Linked DNA regions of Homo sapiens: region 1 is linked to region 2. Evidence: promoter capture Hi-C in 16 types of primary human blood cells and fetal thymus (Javierre and others, 2016). All regions are on one chromosome and are shown on one strand. The core of a region is centred on a gene start or on the middle of the fragment in contact, and the rest is flanking DNA. Distances in the headings are between cores, read along the strand shown. Region 1 holds the start of EIF3M (eukaryotic translation initiation factor 3 subunit M). Region 2 overlaps LGR4 (leucine rich repeat containing G protein-coupled receptor 4).

The links. Contacts are between HindIII fragments. The CHiCAGO score rates a contact against its expected background, and 5 or more counts as called.
Region 1: a contact is called between the fragment with the promoter of EIF3M here and a fragment that was not itself captured in region 2, in 1 of 17 cell types (total CD8 T cells). The highest score is 6.6, in total CD8 T cells.

The regions. Positions count from the first base shown.
Region 1 is chr11:32,582,554-32,586,406 of GRCh38, reverse strand. EIF3M (eukaryotic translation initiation factor 3 subunit M) reads right to left here and starts at 2,576. Exons shown (of 11, transcript NM_006360.6): 1 at 2,478-2,576. The coding sequence starts at 2,519. RefSeq lists enhancers at 2,421-2,570, 2,213-2,865 and a silencer at 2,731-2,790. The HindIII fragment of the contact is 5,112 bases long and covers 1-2,861 here.
Region 2 is chr11:27,363,333-27,367,089 of GRCh38, reverse strand. LGR4 (leucine rich repeat containing G protein-coupled receptor 4) reads left to right here. Exons shown (of 18, transcript NM_018490.5): 18 at 1-1,129. Among named protein-coding and RNA genes, the nearest start is that of CCDC34, 2.0 kb to the right of the region's middle. RefSeq lists enhancers at 3,449-3,618, 3,614-3,757. The HindIII fragment of the contact is 2,201 bases long and covers 392-2,592 here.

The sequences.
Region 1 (3,853 bases), core at 1,327-3,826, 5.2 Mb before region 2:
GAGTCAGCATGCATCTTCGGACCTATAAAAACACAACTACAATAGCACATTCAGTCACTTGGACATTTCCTACCCTACTACCGAATTATATATATTTATTCCATTTTTCTTCTGGGACTCTTTATGGCAGCCAAACAAACGCAGTTTTTTTTTGTTTTGTTTTGAGATGGAGTTTCACTCTTATTGCCCAGGCTGGAGTGCAATAGCATGAGTGCAATGGAGCGATCCCGGCTCACTGCAACCTCTGCCTCCGGGGTTCAAATGATTCTCCAGCCTCAGCCTCCCAAGTAGCAGGGATTACAGGCATGCGCCACCATGCCCAGCTAATTTTGTATTTTTAGTAGAGGCAGGGTTTCATCATGTTCGTCAGGCTGGTCTCAAACACCTGACCTCCGGTGATCCACGGGCCTCGGCCTCCCAAAGTGCTAAGATTATAGGCGTGAGCCACCGTGCTCAGCCTGGTTTTAAAGATAATAAAATGAGGATGTGCAACAGGAATATGAAAGGATACCATTAGTAAATGCACAGGCATTACATTTTCTAGACCAAGCCAAAAAAAAAAAATTCAAAGCCATCAAGATTTTTAAACCCCCAAGTATATTTAGTTGCCTCAGGAAAGTATTAAACCTGCAGATCTGACGGTACTATCCTTTCAGGTAACAAGAACACAGTAACTTCATAGAAGAGTTGGTATTATAAGCAAAATTAAAAAAAGAAAACAAACTGTCACCATGTCAGAGAAAACAAAAATACCTCCAGAAATCATGCTTCATGCTTCTCTATGGAGGAAACAGATACACAGCAAACTTTTTCTAAGAACTATTGAACCACGTTTGCTGTTTTTCTGTCATCCTCACTGCCACAAGTGGTTGTGGAAGCAGCATAAGCAAAGGAAAACAAAAAAAGATAAAGAATTCCATTTAACTCTAATCAAGCTGAGAATTTCACCAAAGTTAAACTAATCCTGAGCAATTTCATATTTCCCTGAAAGGACTGTCTACAGCGATACTGATGTTACAAGAACAGAAGCAGAGCCTGAGAAAAGACACTTTAAGATACGATCAATGACAAGAACTTCCTCCATTCACTTTGTATGTTAAAAAAAAAAAAATTCCAAACACTTTCTCAGTTAACCTAACAGCCAACTGTTGGTAACATGCTTCCATTTCTAATCAGGTATCTTTTTGTCTTTCATATCTTCCTATCTGTGCTTAACCTCCCCATCCTTGACCTTTTCTCCGCCTTTTGCATTTTCCCTTCTTACTTTGCTCTTCAGAGCATCGGAACTGCATTCCTACCATGGGGCGGGGGGAGGAGAGAGGGGGAACTCACTCCCGCAATTCTGTAAGTTGTCTTAGACAAGTAAACTTCCATGCGAAGTTTATGATATCCAATCATTTGGAAGTTACTTCCGTGTTAGTGGAGTAACAGAAATAAAACGACAAAGTTAGGACTTCACAGAAGAATTTTCAGCAATACAAAATTAACTTAAAGAATACGATGTCGTGTTCAACTCCTACCAAATAAGGTTAAACTTTTGTTATGGGGAAAATGAGAACCATCAGCCCTGTATACCAAAGAGCAAACGCCAAACGGGAAATTTAAAAATATCAGGATGGTCCATCAGGTGTATGCCTCACAGAATTTAAGAGCTGAACTGATACCATACTTCCGGGGTACAGAACAACTCTCACCCTCATACAAGTAGGAATAGAAAGCAAGTGTAAAATACGGGTCGTCTTCGCCTGTGATCGCACAGTAATACGGGCGTTTTGATCTTTTTTTTTTTTTTTTTTTTTGAGAGGGACTCTCGCTCTGTCGCCCAGGCTGGAGTGCAGTGGCGCGATCTTGGCTCACTGCAAACTCCGCCTCGCGGGTTCAAGCGATTCTCTTGCCTCAGCCTCGGCAGTAGCTGGGACTACAGGCGCGTGCCACCGCGCCCGGGTAATTTTTTTGTATTTTTAATAGAGACAGGGTTTCACCGTGTTAGCCAGGATGGTCTCGATCTCCTGACCTCGTGATCTGCCCGCCTCGGCGTCCCAAAGTGCTGGGATTAAAGGCGTGAGCCACCGCGCCCGGCCCGGCATTTTGATCTTTAGCACAAAATTACTTTTCCCTACCCTGCTTATGCTAACTACAGATTCACCACCTCCCACTCCGAATGTGGCTGCATTTGACGGACGGAAGCAGACATCATTCCTCATCAGTCTAAAAGTACTATGTCGTCAGAAATGAGTCCCGACGCCGACCAGGGAGCTGGCGGTGAAGCGTCGGGCCCCGCGCTGGGACCGCCGGCCGGCGAGCTGGTGCGAATCGAGGCCAGGAACGCGCGCCCCAGCCACCGGCCTCCCCATTCTCGCGTGTAGAACAGCTGCGGGTGTCAGCCCCGGCCGCCCGGCCCAGGCTCGGCAGCGGTCCCTTGCGCTACTAGGACATCCCCCACCCCACCGTGGCGGCACCCGTAGACCGAAGCACACCTGATCTTCTTCACTGATGTCGATGAAGGCCGGGACGCTCATGGTGCAGGCCCGGGCACAGCGGACACTCCACTCGCAAGACCACGCCGACCGGAAAAGGGAACTGGGCCGCGCGACGCTGCTGGCGCAACTGCTTCCGGGTCACCCTGAGCGGCGACCTGTTGGGGCGGGGCCTTGAGAGCCAATCCTATCGCGCGCTCTCGCCGCGGAATGCAGCAGGGCGTGGCAGACGCGCTCGGGCTGGCCTAGTGGGTGGGACTTACTGGGCCTCCACTCAGCGACGCTTGTCGCGGCCTCCAGTTTTCAGGCCCGTGTAGCTAACTGCATTGATGTTGCCTCCCGCTGGCGCCTCCCTAAGTCCACCTTCCCTTGAAATGTTAAGCTTGTTGGGTCTTACCAAGTATGGATGGGTTTGTGTAGACCTGAAACTCTCCTGTACTGCTGTTGGGAACATAAAATGGTGCAGTCACTTTGCAGAGGAGCGGCAGTTTCTGAAAAAGTTCAGTATCCACCCAGCATATGACCCAGCTATTCTTCTACCCAAACTGTATGTCCGTACAAAGACTTGTACAAGAATGTTCATTGCCGCTTTTAAAAAATAGCAGCTTTGGCTGGGCGCAGTGGATCTCACGCCTGTAATCCCAGCACTGTGGGAGGCCGAGGTGGGCGGATCACTTGGGGTCAGGAACTGGAGACCAGCCTGGGCAACATGGCAAAACCCCGTCTCTACTAAAAATACAAAAATTACCGGGGCATAGTGGTGCGCGCCTGTAATCCCAGCTACTCGGGAGGCTGAGGCAGGAGAATCACTTCAACCTGGGAGAAGGAGGTTGCAGTAAGCCCAGATCATGCCACTGCATTCCAGCCTGGGCGACAGAGCGAGACTCCGTCTCATAAAATAAATACACAATTCAGTAGTTTTTAGTATTTTCAGAGTTGCACAACCATCACTACTATTTAATTTTAGAACATTTTCATCACCTACAAAAGAAACTACCCATCAGCAATCACTCCCCAGACCCCCGGCCCCACCTCTCTCCAGCCCCTGGCAAACACTACATTTTGTCTCTATGAATTTGCCTTTTCTGGACATTTCATGTAAGTGGAATCACAAAATACACGGTGGCCTAAGTCAGACTTACTTCATTTAGCATAATGTTTTCAAGGTTCGTCCATGTATCCCTCCTATATTCCTATTTATTGCTTATAATATTGCATTGTTATGGATATACCACATTGTGTTGATTTGTTCATCAGTTGGTGGACACTTGGGTTGTCTCCATTTTTTGGCTATTATGAATAATGTTTCCATGAACGTTAGTGCACAAGATTTTGTGTGTACGTATATTTCTCTTAGGTATGTACCTATGAGAGGA
Region 2 (3,757 bases), core at 243-2,742:
TAACTAATGTGGGGGTTTAATAGTATCTGAGGGATTTGGTGGCTTCATGTAATGTTCTCATTAATGAATACTTCCTAATATCGTTGGCTCTACTAATATTTTCCAATTTGCTGGGATGTCACCTAGCAATAGCTTGGATTATATAGAAAGTAAACTGTGGTCAATACTTGCATTTAATTAGACGAAACGGGGAGTAATTATGACACGAAGTACTTATGTTTATTTCTTAGTGAGCTGGATTATCTTGAACCTGTGCTATTAAATGGAAATTTCCATACATCTTCCCCATACTATTTTTTATAAAAGAGCCTATTCAATAGCTCAGAGGTTGAACTCTGGTTAAACAAGATAATATGTTATTAATAAAAATAGAAGAAGAAAGAATAAAGCTTAGTCCTGTGTCTTTAAAAATTAAAAATTTTACTTGATTCCCATCTATGGGCTTTAGACCTATTACTGGGTGGAGTCTTAAAGTTATAATTGTTCAATATGTTTTTTGAACAGTGTGCTAAATCAATAGCAAACCCACTGCCATATTAGTTATTCTGAATATACTAAAAAAATCCAGCTAGATTGCAGTTTAATAATTAAACTGTACATACTGTGCATATAATGAATTTTTATCTTATGTAAATTATTTTTAGAACACAAGTTGGGAAATGTGGCTTCTGTTCATTTCGTTTAATTAAAGCTACCTCCTAAACTATAGTGGCTGCCAGTAGCAGACTGTTAAATTGTGGTTTATATACTTTTTGCATTGTAAATAGTCTTTGTTGTACATTGTCAGTGTAATAAAAACAGAATCTTTGTATATCAAAATCATGTAGTTTGTATAAAATGTGGGAAGGATTTATTTACAGTGTGTTGTAATTTTGTAAGGCCAACTATTTACAAGTTTTAAAAATTGCTATCATGTATATTTACACATCTGATAAATATTAAATCATAACTTGGTAAGAAACTCCTAATTAAAAGGTTTTTTCCAAAATTCAGGTTATTGAAAACTTTTCATTTTATTCATTTAAAAACTAGAATAACAGATATATAAAAGTGTTAATCTTTGTGCTATATGGTATGAAATACAATATTGTACTCAGTGTTTTGAATTATTAAAGTTTCTAGAAAGCAATCTATTTTGCCTTAATTTAAAACTAGGTATATTAATGAATTTAGTTTTAAAGTAAGCAAATTAAATATTTGTAAGTGGACAGTATTAGAAGAAATGTTGGAAGTAACCATTAGAAAACACTATTTTGATATTTATTTGTAAACATATAAGAACATTTTGCTGAAACTTAGAAATAAGGTTTTATCCTAAGTCTGAACTATACTCATGGAAAACAGATTATGAAATTTCAGAAAAACCATTGATTCAATCTTTATCTAAAAAGCAAATGATTAAAAAATCTGCATGATATTAAATGTAGTCAGTTGCCCAGATGCTTAGAAATACTTCAGTATTTACAATCATTAAGTCCTCATTTTACAGATGAGAAAACAAAAGGCTTAATGAAATTTAAGTGAATCCCTGAGTCACAGCAAATTTGACCCCAAACCAGAACCCAATGCCTCTTCATTTGGGACATAATTTTGTGTGTGTGTTTGTTTTAAATTTCATATATGCTTGAAATTTCCATAACAAAAAGTAGAGTAGTATAATTACCCCACCTCCCTACCCTTCACCCCATACCTGTCACTGCTTTGACAATTATCTGCAGCATGTAGTGAACCTTGTTTCATCTTCATCCTATTCACTAATCCCCTCCAATCCCTCTGCCCCTTGCATTATTTTGAAGCAAATTTAAGACATTATATTGTTTCATCTGTAAATACTAATGTCTAGGGATAAATTTTTAAAGTTGCATAATATATGCCACAGGGCTAACTGGTGATGGAATTATTTAAGCAAAAGTGACTCTTATATAAGTTTCCAGAGCCAGCAAAACATAATTACCTCAAATATACCATGGCCAAAGTACTAATTGTATGAAAAGATGTCACTAAGTCAATACCCTAAAACTTAAAGGGAGAGACACTCTTTTATACATTTGTACATTTATATATAATTCTACCCATCTCGATTATGGCTTCTCAGCTCCAGTAATGAAAAGGCACTGTAAGAAATGAGGCCGCTGGACTTAATTATGTTCAAACACCAGCACCAGCACCATCTGACTCTGCCTCATACCCTTGGGGGGGTCCAGCATTGCTAGTGCATAATGTCACAGTTGGTCATAATGATGACCCTGGCGCATCAAGAAAAGGGTATACTTTGTTTAGGAAAACATTTTAAGGGGACAAAGAAGTATATGACATTTAGATTCCCATGCGTAGAGGTTAAAGTGAAAAAGTTCTGAAGTTTACACACAACTTTTCATTGTATCTTTCTGATTCTGAGCTTAGAAACTTTGAGAATTAATGAGATAATATGACCCTGTGAGGTAAATTTTTCCCCTATTTTCAGAGGAGTGTTAGGAATGGAAAACCTATCAAGTACCAAGAAAACCACTGATTCCAGGTCCCTTTCATACTAGTGTTTTTCCCACTACAGTTATGTTTGGTTATATCTATTGGAAAACAGCTTCTCAAGCTTACCTCTTTATGAGGCCCTAAGGCAGCTCAGTGCGTTTCGATGTTACTGATTCTAGAGATGTTCTGATAAAAGGTTTTTAAATGCCAATATTGAATAACTAGGGTCGAGAACGAAAACTCCATTAGGTCAGTTTTATTCCTTGATCAACTTTATTACTCATTTGGAGTGCTCCAATTTTCTTTCATTTTGTTTTCACCGAAATTTTAAAGAAAATATTCAATTTAAATAGATTTAATCATGTCATATTTTATTAATTATAGCTCTGCCTTCTGAATTGCCTTTGGTTGCTATTACTTCTACCATAGCTAATTCTCCTGTGTTAAATTTTGCAGATCTAGATTTCATCAAAGTTTTTGTATCACTCTGGTCACTAAAAAGTTTTGTGTGATGTGTTAGCCATGGTCAATTTTCGTTTATGGTATTTCTACCGGTAATATACATTATGAACTGGACAAAAGCCCTATTTATTTACAAATGTACAGTTTTGTCAGCATGAATAAAGCATCTACCTTTCCTTTACTGCCTTTATCCCCATTCCCGAGAGTGCCCCTCAGATCCCACATAAAATGCATATCAGCATATTTACTGAGATCATTTTTCACGACAACAGGATGAGGAACTTAAGGGCGAGACTTTTAATCATCTATCCCTTGTGCTTTACGCAGACCCTACAATACACTAGAGGCTTCAAAGAGGTCAAAAATTCACATGTGTAGACAAATTAGGTCCCTTAAGATGCCAGGCAAACGAAGTGCTACCAAAACACGCAATGACTGTCCTAAAAGTGCGTTCTGGGATACACCTGTAAACTTGGATCAAGTTCCCTCCCCTCTCCTCAAAATATATCGACTTGTGCTGAAAGAAATCACGACCGATGCTCACAATTCTGACCTCGTAATTATATAGGGGGTGGTTTTGGTTTCTGCGTCTTTCCCTGATTCAGTGGCAGGTAACATATTTCATGTACAAAATGAACTGCAACACCACGGCAAACAAGGGACAGGCCCTCAAAGTTGTCGGTAGGGAGCCAGGACCCCGCCAGTGGCGTGGGGAGACACCGTACTAAACAAGCTTGCAAACAGCAGGCACCTTCCTGCCACTGAGGAGGAAGGGCTGGCTAAGGGAGGCCGGGGCGGAGGAAGCCAAGCTCTGCAGGCCCTGACA